5 separate regions of the Homo sapiens genome follow, and regions 2, 3, 4 and 5 are each linked to region 1. The links are contacts of gene promoters, found by promoter capture Hi-C in blood cells and fetal thymus (Javierre and others, 2016). All regions are on one chromosome and are shown on one strand. The core of a region is centred on a gene start or on the middle of the fragment in contact, and the rest is flanking DNA. Distances in the headings are between cores, read along the strand shown. Region 1 holds the start of ZNF134 (zinc finger protein 134). Region 2 overlaps ZNF329 (zinc finger protein 329). Region 3 holds the start of ZNF324 (zinc finger protein 324). Region 4 holds the start of ZNF497 (zinc finger protein 497). Region 5 holds the start of ZNF835 (zinc finger protein 835).

What was found. Contacts are between HindIII fragments. The CHiCAGO score rates a contact against its expected background, and 5 or more counts as called.
Region 2: a fragment that was not itself captured here is called in contact with the fragment with the promoter of ZNF134 in region 1 in 5 of 17 cell types (activated CD4 T cells, total CD8 T cells, naive CD8 T cells and 2 more); the score reaches 6.1 in activated CD4 T cells.
Region 3: the fragment with the promoter of ZNF324 here is called in contact with the fragment with the promoter of ZNF134 in region 1 in 13 of 17 cell types (neutrophils, total CD4 T cells, activated CD4 T cells and 10 more); the score reaches 15.9 in neutrophils.
Region 4: the fragment with the promoter of ZNF497 here is called in contact with the fragment with the promoter of ZNF134 in region 1 in 12 of 17 cell types (neutrophils, monocytes, total B cells and 9 more); the score reaches 14.3 in neutrophils.
Region 5: the fragment with the promoter of ZNF835 here is called in contact with the fragment with the promoter of ZNF134 in region 1 in 8 of 17 cell types (total CD4 T cells, M1 macrophages, naive CD4 T cells and 5 more); the score reaches 7.1 in total CD4 T cells.

What each region holds. Positions count from the first base shown.
Region 1 is chr19:57,612,899-57,615,598 of GRCh38, forward strand. It overlaps ZNF134 (zinc finger protein 134), which reads left to right and starts at 1,344. Exons shown (of 3, transcript NM_003435.5): 1 at 1,344-1,605. RefSeq lists an enhancer at 1,239-1,418 and a silencer at 1,549-1,598. The HindIII fragment of the contact is 2,580 bases long and covers 921-2,700 here.
Region 2 is chr19:58,127,687-58,130,386 of GRCh38, forward strand. ZNF329 (zinc finger protein 329) reads right to left here. Exons shown (of 4, transcript NM_024620.4): 4 at 1-1,825. The coding sequence starts at 1,817. The coding sequence ends at 192. Among named protein-coding and RNA genes, the nearest start is that of ZNF329, 22 kb to the right of the region's middle. The HindIII fragment of the contact is 846 bases long and covers 1,017-1,862 here.
Region 3 is chr19:58,465,664-58,468,363 of GRCh38, forward strand. It overlaps ZNF324 (zinc finger protein 324), which reads left to right and starts at 1,417. Exons shown (of 4, transcript NM_014347.3): 1 at 1,417-1,520. RefSeq lists enhancers at 1,148-1,764, 1,765-2,379 and silencers at 1,407-1,456, 1,537-1,666. The HindIII fragment of the contact is 6,014 bases long and covers 1-2,700 here.
Region 4 is chr19:58,361,378-58,364,077 of GRCh38, forward strand. It overlaps ZNF497 (zinc finger protein 497), which reads right to left and starts at 1,374. Exons shown (of 3, transcript NM_198458.3): 1 at 1,300-1,374. It overlaps ZNF497-AS1 (ZNF497 antisense RNA 1), which reads left to right and starts at 1,249. Exons shown (of 3, transcript NR_136527.1): 1 at 1,249-1,375. It also overlaps the pseudogene RNA5SP473. RefSeq lists enhancers at 661-1,209, 939-1,068. The HindIII fragment of the contact is 6,825 bases long and covers 1-2,700 here.
Region 5 is chr19:56,670,350-56,673,049 of GRCh38, forward strand. ZNF835 (zinc finger protein 835) reads right to left here and starts at 1,408. Exons shown (of 2, transcript NM_001005850.3): 1 at 1,227-1,408. LOC105372473 (a long non-coding RNA gene) reads left to right here and starts at 1,630. Exons shown (of 4, transcript XR_936110.4): 1 at 1,630-2,082. The HindIII fragment of the contact is 4,177 bases long and covers 1-1,502 here.

The DNA.
Region 1 (2,700 bases), core at 94-2,593:
ACTTTGAGTAATTTGGCCGGGCGCGGGGGCTCTCCTGTAATCCCAGCACTTTGGGAGGCTGAGGCGGGCAGATCACGAGGTCAGGAGATCGAGACCATCCTGGCTAACACGGTGAAACCCCATCTCTACTAAAAATACAAAAAGTTAGCCGGGCATGGTGGCAGGCGCCTGTAATCCCAGCTACTCCGGAGGCTGAGGCAGGAGAATAGTGTGAACCTGGGAGGCGGAGCCTGCAGTGAGCTATGGTCGCACCACTGCACTCCAGCCTGGGCGACTGAGCAAGACTCCGTCTCAAAAAAAAAAAACACAAAACAACTTTTGAGTAATTTAAACAATTCACAAATGTTTTTGTCTTTCTTTCCCCATACACTCGCCCTTTTCTTTTTTAAAACCATAAATAAATCTCAATTCTCAATTCAGACACTGTCGGTGTAATTGCAGGTGAAATGAGAATCACCTCCCAGCCAAGAAATCTGATCCCAATTTTCCAAATCTTTATTTCTGGGTTCAGACACCACATTTTCAGCCCCTGTCTTGGCATATAAAAGCATTTATAATGGTTCTTCTTTTCAGATAAGAAACATCACCAAAAGGAAATAGATATATCTCAACTTTTGGGCTAGGAACTCTCATTTGGATAAAAGAATATTTCTCCTTTGGTTGGACATTAGTGACCATACAGGCAGGAAAGGTGCCTTCCTTGACCACCTTCTCTCGCCTGTCTTCCTCCTCATGGTTCTCTCAGGTATTTTTTTTCTGAGGAAACCAGAGGAAGAGCTCTATATTAGTCCACTTGCCTCAGGGAGCTCCAGCATCCCTCCATAGCCACTGTCTGGAGACCATTCTTCCACTCCATGGCCCTGCCTGGGGACAATTCTCTGTTAACTCTGACCCAACTGAGGCTCACAAAACTGACTCAAAGCTTCCCTCTACAGTACACATATTTTTTAAATGAAGGAAATTTGACTGAACTATGAGTGGACTCAGAGTGACATTGGATGTTGTGTGTCCATTTGGTGGTGTGGCTTCAGGGAACATCTGTAAGAATATATCCCAATATTTCGGGGATCCCTGCAGACCTCACTACACAAGACCTGGTTGAGGGTCCTTTAAAAGGAGCGAAGCCACGCCCTGACCTCAGAGTCTCAGGGCATAATTTCTCAGCGCCCCTCGCAGTACCATTTGGCCTTTGCCCAGCGTGCAGGGGAGTTAGCCGTCACCACGGCCAAGTGCACATGAGAACTGCATTGCCCAGAAACCTGTGCGCCGCCCGGCGGCGGCACTCTTAGGGGCGTCTCCCTGCGGACGGAAGCTCTCTGGGCGGGACTTCCGGTATCTTCCTCGCGGTGGACATCTTGTCGGCTCTTAGGTGGAACCATCGGAGCAGAAGCTCGGGGTTGCTGGGCGGTTCCGAGGTGACGGAAGCGGGAGGGTGCGGGAGAAGTCGCTGTTCGCTCTGCGGAGTGGCTCGCCAGCGAAGACCCCGCCTGCGCCCCCGGGGACGGACGACCGCGGTGCCAGGGTCCCGCGACCTGGGACCCCCTCGCGGCTCCGGGTGGTCTACGAACTGTGATGGCGGCGGCCGCGGTGATGGGCCCGGCGCAGGTGGGTGCTGCCTTTCCCAGACTTTCGCCCGCCCCAAATCCTGAAGTTCCAAATGAGGAGCGCCTGTCTGAGTCCCTGCAGCGCAGGCCCCAGTGTCCAAGGCAGCGGGGCGCTGGTGGGTGGGGGCGAGTGTGACTGGCAGAGGGGCAGCCTGAGCATAGGTTTGGAGCTGGACTGAGCCCGTAGCAGTCGGGAGCGTGTGTGAACCGTAGTCAGGCCTGCAATGTCGAGGGGAGAAGTTGCTCCTTCATTGCGAGGACGATAGGAGCCATGGCGGGTTTTGAATGGTGGAGGGAAGGGATCCGAAAAAGGATTTTTAAAGTATTCCAATGTTTGCTGAGGAGGAAACCGACTACAGTGAGGTAGAAACGATGAGGATGGAGGCAAGGAGACGTTTGAGGAGGTCCCTGCAACAAACTCCAGAAGTGTTGCGGTGGTGGCTGGGCCAGAGCAGTGGCAGGAGGGGTTGGGTGGGGAAGTCATGAGATTCTGGGTAGATTTTTAAAGATGGAACCAATGGGGTTTCCTGCCGCATCAGATGTGGTCGTGAGTGAATGTAGGGAGGAAAGGGCTATCCAGGGTTTTTTTGGCCTGTTTTCCTTCCTGAACGTGTGAAAGAATGGAAATTGGTAAGTCACAGCAGGGAGCACGTTTCAGGGGCATCAGGAATTGGGTTTTGGACTTGGTGAATCTAAGGTGTTCTGCACTGGAGGTTCATCACGGGTAGCTGAACATGCAGGTCTGGGGTTCTAGAGAGGGAGTTGTGCTAGAGACTTCAATGGGTGAGGCATAAGGTCAAAGCCTGTAGTAGATCAGATTTAGAGGGTGGAATTTCAAGGAAGTTATTTTGTGTGGTCTCTGAAGTGAGAGGTGGGTTTAGGGTGGAAGGCCAGGGATGAAGGGGTGGACACTTAAGATTCCTTCCAGAAAGGAGGGGTCCTGGCATGTGAAAGCATTCTAGATGGTGTTGTTGGAAGTCAATGCTTGGTGCTGCAAAGTGAAACCAGCACTCAGGCAAAAGTTTTCTCAGCAAGGCAATTTACTTCTGTGCAAGTGTGCTGCCTGTGTTAATCACGATCCCAAGAGCACACTGAA
Region 2 (2,700 bases), core at 190-2,689, 510 kb after region 1:
CATCCTAAGTTGTCTCTGGAGTTCCCCAATGAGCAGACTTAACAGTGTGGCTCAGCAATGTCTCACATTCATCAATTCACTGGATAGCTTAAAGGATTCTTTTCTACTGACCAGAGAGGAGTCAGATCTAAGACACGCCTCCTAAACACAGGAGTGAGAGTGAACTGGAAGACTCATGTGGCCCCCAACCATTATGTTTCCATGGGTTGCTCTCCCAGGTGTGCTCTTTGATGTCGAACAAGGGATGAGCTCTTTTGGAACATTTTTCCACACTGAGGACACCGGCTGGGACCCTCCCTGCTATGGAGTCTCTGATGTACTGCCAGGTGAGAGTTCTGCTTGAAGGACTTCCCACATTCTGGACACTGATATGGGGTCTCCTTAGTGTGAATTCTCTGGTGCTTGGTCAGACAGGAGCTGTCCCTGAAGGCTTTGCCACACTGATTACACTCATAGGGCTTCTCACCAGTATGAGTCCTCTGGTGCCTAATGAGGCCAGCGATATTCCTGAAAAGTTTCTGACACTGGTTGCAGCCATAGGGCTTCTCGCCAGTATGAATCCTCTGATGCCTGATGAGGTACGCACTCTCGATGAAAGTCTTGCCACATTCTTTACATTCATAGGGTTTCTCCCCAGAATGGATCTTTTGATGCACAATGAGGTGAGAGTTTCTGTTGAAGGATTTCCCGCACTCTGCACACTCAAAGGGCTTTTCTCCAGTGTGAGTCCTCTCATGCTGGGTGAGGTACGAGCCGTCCCGGAAAGCCTTTCCACATTTGCTACACTCATAGGGCTTCTCACCGGTGTGGATTCTGAGATGCACTGTAAGGTGGGAGATGTCAGTGAAGGGTTTCCCACATTCGTTACATCTATATGGTTTTTCCCCTGTATGAGTTCTTTGGTGCAAAATTAAGGATGAATTTCGGTTGAAGGTTTTTCCACACTCTAGGCATTCATAAGGTTTCTCGCCTGTGTGAATTCTCTGGTGCTGTGTCAGAGCTGAGCCATCACTGAAAGCTTTCCCACATTTACTGCATTCATAGGGCTTCTCTCCTGTGTGGATTCTTTGATGCACAATCAGGTTGTAGTTCTTGGAGAAGGACTTTCCACACTCATTACAAGTATAAGGCTTCTCTCCGGTGTGAGTTCGGTGATGCAAAACAAGAGAAGAGTTCCGTTTGAAGCATTTGCCACATTCAGTACATCTATATTGTTTCTCTCCAGGGAGATTTCTCTGGTTTTCATTAAGCGATGAGCTCAGAGTAAAGATGTTCTCAAAATTCTTACCTTCATACGATTTCTTGCCTCTTTTCATTATTTTCTGATGACCAAGAGAGGTAAAATGATTAAAAGACTTAACACTTTCAGGGTATTTGTAGGGCTTCTCTCTCACTGGATTTCTTCCATGAATAACTTCCATGGAATGGTTGAAGCCTTTTCCACAGGCATCACTGTCACCAGTTCTCTTATCTGCATAACTTTTAGGATAGCTGGGTAAGGCGGGGTCACAATCCAGACCACTAACATTTGAGTCAGGTGCATGGAAACCATTTGTTGCCAGAACTCTCTGAGACGGTGGAAGGTCTGAGCTTGCAATCAAATGCTCCCCAAAACCAGGATATTCACAAATTGCTTCCTGAGTCCCTGGTTTCTCCAGAGTTAAAGCTGATTGCCTCAAGTGTCCCTCCTGGTTCTCACAGTCCCAACCATCACCTAAACTGGACAAGCAGGGAACTTCCCTTGTGAATCTTTCCACTTCTACATCACAGGGTACTTCTCTCTCAGGAAAATTCCGAGTCGTCATTTTCAATCTCATATCCCAAACTGCAAAAAGAAGAAAAATGCAGACTTAGGTATATGAAGCTTTATCTGTAAGAGAAACAGACAATGATGATGGGCTAGGTGTAAAGATGTGTATTTTTTTACTTGTTTTCTCTTTTAAATTCAAATTTATACAAGGAAGAGGTAAAATCGTAGCCAAGGAATGGAACCAAGAACAGATTCAAAAAGAGCCATGTAGCATTTTCATCTTCCTAGAGAGCAGGCAGGAGGAATGGACCTCGGGATAAATCATCACCAAAAGGATTAGTTTGAGATGTGAGAGACCAGAGGCCAAGCATCCCTGCTCCCCCTAGAATTCCATCCCAGCCACTGCATTCTTGTCCCTGTCACACACTGCCCATCAGTACACATTTCCAAAGCTCTGACTTCACAATGAGCTTACAACAGCACTGAAGGAACAGTTCTCACCCCAGCTCTGTCATCAAAGTTCTGCATTCATGGATAGGACAAAGCACAGGCTTGGTGACCTAAAAGTTCTGGGTCTAAGTCTTAGAACTGTCAATGACCTGGCGGGGCACAGTGGTTCACTCCTGTAATCCCAGCACTTTGGGAAGTGGAGGCAGGTGGATCATTTGAAGTCAGGAGTTCAAGACCAGCCTGACCAACATGGTGAAACACCGTCTCTACTAAAAATACAAAAAAAATCAGCCAGGCGTGGTGGCACATGCCTGTAGTCCCAGCTACTCTGGAGGCTGAGGCAGGAGAATCACTTCAACCTGGTAGGCAGAGGTTGCAGTGAGCTGAGATCACACCACTGCACTCCAGCCTACGCGGCAGAGTGAGACTCCATCTCAAAAAACAAAACAAAACAAAAACTGTCAAAGACTGCCCTGCATGGTTGTTATAAAAACTGGATC
Region 3 (2,700 bases), core at 167-2,666, 850 kb after region 1:
GGTCTCAAACTCCTAGGCTCCAGTGATCGCTCACCTTGGCCACCCAAAGTGCTCAGATTCCAGGTGTGAGCCACTGCGCCCAGTCCTGAAATGTTCTTAAATTCTTTCAAAGTAGCAAAATTTATATTAAAACATTCCAAACATGATGAGCTCCCTTGCTCTACAAGGATTTACAAGTAGAATCAATTAGGTGGACAGTTATAGCTGACAGTTGACAGAGAGATAGTTATAGATGGAGGTAGGTATAGAGGGAGGGAGGCAAAAAGAGTTAAGGAACTGGACAGCTGAGAACTGTCTACAGGTTCCAAAAACAAGACAAAGAACCTTTTATTATCTGCCAAACAAGACAGTCTACATTGAGACTGCTCTGCCTTTCGTTTTTATGTGTCAAAGACACTTAAATTGGCCTGTAATCCCAGCACTTTGGGAGAACGAGGTGGGCGGATCACCTGAGGTCAGGAGTTCAAGACCAGCCTGGCCAACATGGTGAAACTCCATCTCTACTAAAAAATACAAAAATTAGCCAGGCATGGTGGCGCACACCTGTGGTCCCAGCTACTACGGAGGCTGAGGCGGGGGGATCACTTGAACCTGAAGGCAGAGGTTGCAGTGAGCCGAGATTGTGCCACTGCACTCCAGCACGGGCAACAGAACAAAGACCCTGTTAAAAAAAAAAAAAAAAAACTTAAATGAGTCCCAAGAAAAAAGGAAAAAAGAATGAATATTGTGATGTGTGGGGCAAGACAAGATCTAGATGGTCTAAGGACAAGCAAATCTGGGGAATTAACTTCTGCCCATCCAAATTACAAGGAAAACAGATGCTTTGGGCAAGTGTCGAGGAACAGTCTCATACTTAAGACAAATGTAGGCTTACGGGCTGAGAATTCTTGGTGTAAAGGTTGAAAACGGACCTTAAACCTTTACGGGACATTGACACAGAGAGGTCAAACCCGCGCCCAGGACGCACAGTCAGTGAGAGGCAGAGCTGGGAAGGGAACCCGGAGCTCCAGGCATCGGCTCCTCCACCTCCACCTGCGCTACCCGGTGCATTTTCTCCTCCGTGCTCACTGCTGGTGTTGCCTCTTGGAACCTCGGCAGTTTCTGCTTTCGCACCTGCAGGGTTTAGTCTCCGGGACTGCTTGGGAGGACACCTGGAATGCCGAAGGCAGGACTACACACCGGGCGAATCCACCAGCGCCACCAAGCCCTTGAAAACCCGAGGCCGCCGCGCGACTCCATTTCCCAGCGCCCCGCGCGGCAGGGGCTTGGACGTTGCCAAGGAGACCGGTAGTGGCCCCGCCTCCACGCAGGGAAACAGGCGGGAACCACGTGACCCGGAAGGCTGTACGCAAGCGTCCGCGGCGCGCACTGGGCCAATGAGAACCGAAGGGCTGGACTTCCGGCGGTGGGACTGTCACTTCGCCGCCCGCGTCAGGCCACACCGGTGGTCTGGGCTGGGGACCGCGGGTCGGGTCCGGTTTCCAGGGGGTTCCTGGTGCTCGAGGCTGGCGGCGAGGAAGGTACTGGCTGAGGGCCCGCGTCGGGCCCGCCCTGCGCACGCGTCGTGATCAAGGGCGCCGGCCGCCGGCCGCGCCCCCAAGCCTCTGTTTCTCAGAGTGCGTCGTGGGCGTCCAGGGGACTGTCGGGCCGCGGCGGGAGCCATGCGCTCTCCCACCGTGCGGCAGCCCAGGAGGCTGCGCGCTGGGCGTTCCACGTCCATGATGGCCGGGGAGACTGAGGCGCGGGGCGGCCCCGGGACGCTGCTGGCGGGGAAAGGCTGGGTGGTCCACGCCTTTCTTCCCTCCCAGCTGCGGGTTCCGCTGGCGGCGGTGGCGCTGACAAGCCCGCGTCGGGGAAGCAGGGGAGTCCCTGCTCACACAGACCGCGCCCTCACGGAGGGAGGCCGCTTCCTAGACCTCGCCTAGTCGTCTTTCCTCTCCCTGCCCTGGGGGGGTTGCGGGGGTCAGTGCAAACTCCTGCGTCCAGGGCACTGGTGAGCTCCCGAGTTCGGGCAGCCAGGGGGCTGAGGTCCCGAAGGAGGCTCCGAGGGGAGAGTCCTGCGTGTGCAAAACCTGGGAGGGGAGCCGAAGCCCAGGTGCTTCTGGGACTGAGCTCTCTCGATGTGGAGCTGGAGTAGAGGGGATGTGTGCGGCTGCAGTATCAGGCGAGGGAGTGGGCTTTATCTCGAGGGCGTCGGGAGACATAGAAGTTTTGAACAGAATCAGGACATCCTCTGAGGACTTTAAAACGGTTCCACCGTTTGTTGCGTGGAGAACAGACATGCAGGGGTGTCGGCATGAAGGGAAGAACCGACTGCCACAGTCTGGGCAGCAGTGGAGGTGGGCGACCAGGTGAATTCTGGTGGATCTGCGGATGCATCAGGTGTGGGCTGTTTGAAGAACTAAGTACCCCATGTTGTTCAGCCTGAGCGCCTGGAAGAAGAGAGCTGCTGTAGATAGAAAGGAGAATTGAAAGGAAAGCAGGTTTCCTTCAGGGGAAAGATCAAGAGTCTGGGATGTCCCAGGTTGGTCATGTCACTGGACCTGACGTTGTTGGCGTCCTGGGCTGTGGACAGGGCCTATGAATTGGACTGAGGAATGGGCAGGGACTCAGCCAGGTGTGGGCAGTTATGGCTTGAGGGTAAAGAAGACCAGCTGGGATGCCTGGGGCTATTGGGAAGAGCCTAGCACCTAACTGAGG
Region 4 (2,700 bases), core at 124-2,623, 750 kb after region 1:
ACAGAGTCTCGCTCTGTTGCCCAGGTTGGAGTGCAGTGGCGTGATGTGGGCTCACCGCGACCTCCGCCTCCTGGGTACAAGCGATTCTCCTGCCTGAGACTCCCGAGTAGCTGGGATTACAGGCACCAGCCTCCACACCCGCCTAATTTTTGTGTTTTCAGTACAGATGGGGTTTCACCATGTTGCTCAGGCTGGTCTTTAACTCCTGAGCTCAAGGGATCCACCCGCCTTGGCCTCCCAAAGTGCTGGGATTACAGACATGAGCCACCGCACCTGGCCTCTAGTTTTTCAAGATGCCACCTTTAGGGGAATTGGGTAAAGCGTACATAGGGTATGCATTACTTGTTACTGCATGTGAATTTATAATTACCTCAAATCAAAAGTTAAATTTTAAAAAAACGACATCTGATTTCAATAAAAATCCATATTTGTGTATTGAAGTATCAGAAATCCGGGTCCCCCAAGGGCCCATGTTTCTTAAGGCGGAGCCAGGCACCGCTGCCCCTCCATCCTGTGGTGTGCGACCCCGACCCGCCAGCCCCCAGCCGCATCTATCAGGGCTGCCGTCCTGAGTCCGTCCTCGTCGTGGGATAGCATGTGAGCCCCGTAAGGTCCTTCCTGTCGGCCTCACTGCTCCAGCCTCCCCGACGTCCTCACGTCCACGCTGCGTGCCCTTTCTGAGCCTCAACGCCTCCTCCTCACCTCGACATGATCAGAGCCACCTCCCGCGTCAGTCCCAGCGCCCACGCCCCCAACAACGGGCACTTGTCCGACCAGTCACGGGTACTTGTGTCTCCCCCACAACCCCCAAGGCCTAGGCTGGACAAACAAATACGGAGTGGATAAAGGGGAGGAAGCTGCGGCCAGGTGGCGCGAGGCCTGTGCGGGCAGCTCCGGAGGCTGGGAGGCGAGCCCAGCCTGGTGAGCTCCGAAACTACCCGGGGCTGGGGACTGATGAACGAATAAATGAATGTGGGAAGAAATGATGGCGCGGCAGGGCATGAGTGAATGAGTGAAAGAATAAACGAGCAGGAGGAACGATGCCACAGAACTGATCGCCATAAGGCTCGCGTTCACCGAGAGAACAGCAAACGGGAGCCATTTCCGTCCCGACCACGGTCGCCTCTGGCCCGTGCAGGGCCACTTCCGGGCCGCTCTGGACGGCGCGGAGGCCTATCTCTCGGTGGTCCCAGAGGGCCCAGCTCAGGGCCGAGGCCCGTCCTGCCCCGCGCGGCGGGAGTGGTTGGAGCCGGAGGGCGGATCTGTGCCTGGCCGAGGGTGTCCGTCGGCGTCACTCACCGTCCTCGGCCCGCCTCTGCGTCCACTAGGAGCGGCCTGAAAGAGGCCCGCACGCGGGCTCGAGCCGCGTGGAATGGTAGGAGGGCGGGCACCGGGTCTCCTGGGGGCGCGGTTGCATTCGGCAGAGCGGCCCAAGGCGTCGCGTTTCTCCCCACTGCGCCTGCGTAACTATGCCGCGGCTGCGGGCGCGCGCCTTCTGGTTCCCATGGGGACGGCGCCACAGCCAAGCTACTCGGGCGTCCTGCGTTGCCATGGATGCGCTCCGCCCCTTCCTGCACCCGGCCAGCCTCTGCGGCACACACCCAACAGCTACACAGGCGCCTGGGGCTGCCCGGGTCGCGGACGCAAGTCGGGCCAACGTAGCTTCTCCCTGGCGGTCCTCCTCCGGCCCCAGGCCGTCTTTACCACCCTGGAACCTTGCTGAGTTGACGCCACTGAGCTGCGTCTCACACCCACGCGCTGTGGAACACCCACCAAGCTGGAATCCACGCGGTTTTTAAAATAGAGTCGGGGGCCGGGCGCGGTGACTCACGCCTGTAATCCCAGCACTTTGGGAGGTCGAGGCGGGCGGATCACGAGGTCAGGAGATCGAGACCATCCTGGCTAACACGGAGAAACCCCGTCTCTACTAAAAATACAAAAAATTAGCCGGGCGTGGTGGCGGGCGCCTGTAGTCCCAGCTACTCGGGAGGCTGAGGCAGGAGAATCGCTTGAACCTGGGAGGCGGAGCTTGCAGTGAGCCGAGATCGCGACACTGCACTCCAGCCTGGGGCGACAGAACGAGACTCCGTCTCAAAAAAAAAAAAAAAAAATTGAGTCGGGATCTCAGAAGCTAAGCAGGGTCGGGCCTGGTTAGTACTTGGGAGACCGTCTGGGAACACCGAGTGCTGTTGGCTAAAATAAATAAATAAACCGGGCGCGGTGGCTCACGCCTGTAATCCCAGAACTTTGGGAGGCCGAGGCGGGCAGATCACGAGGTCAGGAGTTCGAGACCAGCCTGACCAACATGGTGAAACCCCGTCTCTACTGAAAATACAAAAATTAGGCTTGTTGGCGTGTGCCTATAATCCCAGCTACTCGGGAGGCTGAGGCAGGAGAATCGCTTGAACCGGGGAGGCAGAAGTTACAGTGAGCTGAGGTCGTGCCACTGCACACTCCAGCCTGGGTGACAGAGCAAGACTCCGTCTCAAAAAACAACATAGACCAGATGCTGTAAGCTAAAATAAATGAATAGCTAGAGACGGGGTCTCGCTATATGGCCCAGGCTGGTCTTGAACTTCTGGGCTCAAGTGATCCTCCCACCTTGGCCTCCCAAAGTGCTAGGATTACAGACCCGAGCCACTGCACCCGGCCTCCACGAGCTCTTTTTGTACCAATTTTTCCCAATTTGTACTAGGGAGC
Region 5 (2,700 bases), core at 158-2,657, 940 kb before region 1:
TGACACACACAGGGTCATACACAATCATACCTGCCCAGACACACACAGACATGCAGAGACACCCAAACCCATATCCAGGGACACACAGTCGCCCTCCTAACCCCCATGCAAGGAGGCAGGTGGGAAGCCATCACCTGCAGCCACACTCACACATGCACACAGGGTCCCGGGCACACGTAGCTACACACACACCCAGCCCCACACGTAGCTCCCTGTGTGAAGAGGTGCACAGAGACGCACAAGGTCACACATGCCACCTGCTCCACACAGGCCGGCCATTACTGGGACACACCCACAGGGGATGGCTGGACACATGTGCAGTCACACTCGGTGGATAGAGCTCCAGCATAGCCAAAGCCCACATGTGCAGCGTCTCCATCATGTGCAGATGCACACACTTCAGACAGCACGGCACTCTACAGGCTCGCACAGCCAGGTCACCCATCATTGTGCTGGCAGGCACACGGGCCGAGCCAGCCTACACGGCGGCACACCCAGACATGCACACGTGGGGTCACACACCTCACATCCAGGAGAACTTTCAGACTTGCCCAAAGGCAGCCACACGTGTATGTGACATGCTGTGATATGCAGACACCGCTTCACATGAACGAGCACATAACACACCGATAAAGTGTTACATGCCTTTACCTGCAGTCACCTGCCTGGGCTGGCACCACTGAGTGAGCAGGTGCAGACACAGTGACACTCGGGGACGGGCTCACAGGCAGTCACACACCTGCAAGGCCTGGCACCGCCGAGTGAGCAGGTACAGACACAGTGATGGGCTGGCACCGCCAAGTGAGCAGGGGCAGACGCTGTGACACTCAGGGACGGGCTCACAGGCAGTCACACACCTGCACCTGCTGGTACCGTCGAGTGAGCAGGTGCAGACGCTGTGACACTCAGGGACAGGCTCACAGCCAGTCACACACCTGCACGGCCTGGCACCGCCAAGTGAGCAGGTACAGACACAGTGACGGGCTGGCACCGCCGAGTAAGCAGGTGCAGATGCAGTGACAGGCTCACAGGCAGTCACACACCTGCACCTGCTGGTACCGTCGAGTGACCAGGTGCAGACGCTGTGTTACTCAGGGACGGGCTCACAGGCAGTCACACACCTATACGGGCTGACACCGCTAAGTGAACAGGTGCAGACACAATGGCACTCGGGGACGGGCTCACACGCGGTCACACACCTGCAGGAACACGCGCACACTACACACCGTTGCTCTCGCCTCCCGGTATCACCTTCGAACGCGCTGGCCGGCCCCCTCCTAGCCTGGTGCAGTCGGCTCCGCTTCTACTCAGTCTCGGGTCCTCCTGGGCCAACGCAGACCCTGGTGCCTCCTTCCTTAGACGAGCTAAGGTCAAGACTTCTGCTGCTGCGGAGGAGCCCGCGCACCAGGCCGGGGTGGACTGCGCCTGCGCATCGGGCCCGCCTGGTTCTTAGGAACTACGACTCCCAGGGGGCGCTGCGCGCTCGCCGGCACCGCGACTAAAGCTTGCAAAGCCTGGGTCATCGAAACTACAACTCCCAGAAGGCTAAGCGTCTGCACACGCTAGGTCCGCAGGGCGCTGACCCCTGGGGGCCCGAGGAGCGCCGGGCTGCTGCCCCGAGCCCCGCCCACTACAGCCTCAGTGCATGGCGGTGGGCGCTTCCAGTAACTCAGGGGTGGGACTTTTTTCTTGCTCAGGGGATGAGGCCGAGCCCACAGGCTTAGAAAGAAGGAACTTGAGTCCGGGCACCTGTCATCCCAGCGCTTAGGGAGGCCGAGGCGGGTGGATCACCTGAGGTCAGGAGTTCGAGACCAGCCTGGCCAATATGGCGAAACCCCCGTCTCTACTAAAAATACAAAAATTAGCCGAGCATGGTGGCATGCACTTCCAGCTACTTGGAAGGCTGAGGCGGGAGAATGGCTTGAACCTGGGAGGCGAGGGTTGCAGTGAGCTGAGATCGCACCACTGCACTCCAGCCTGGGTGACAGAGCGAGACTTCGTCTCAAAAAAAAAGAAGAAGAAAGAAGGAAGCTGAGGTTCAGACAGGCTAAGTCCCTACTGCAGGCTGCGGAATCTAAAAAGGTAGGTGCCAGGGTTTGCAACCCACACTTTTATTTTGGTCTCAGGTAGCTGATGTCATTCCAGTCTATGGCAAAGAAGGTGGCAAATCCATTAACATAGATGAAGAATTTCATTTTACTTTTTAGTTTTATTTATTTATTTATTTTTATTATGTATCATGCTTTTAATACAAACTTTAAAAAATCTGGAACAATAGAAACTGTACAGATTTGATCAATCTTTTTGTTTTGTTTTTAAACTAAAATCTCTAAACACACCAATGTCCTATTCCAAAATATTGCACAACATTCTGAATACAAAACCCTTGATTGTATTCCTCCTTCACTGAAGAAAAAACTTCATGACCCTGCTCCCCGGGCTCCTCTCCAGGCTTGCGTCAATGCCCCCTTCCCATCCCTAGGGAGAAAACTAGAGAATCTATAACTCACTGCATTGAGAAAAAGACATCATTCTGGACTAACAGTTTCCATTCTTCAGAAGATAATCCACCTTTTGATTTGTTCCTGGGAAACAGGGATAGATAGAGGATGGGGAAAGGGGAGAAAAGGTTTTATTTCTCCTCTTTTTTTTTTAAAGTTTGTTTTTCCTGAAAAAATATGTTTCTCTCATCTTTTTAAG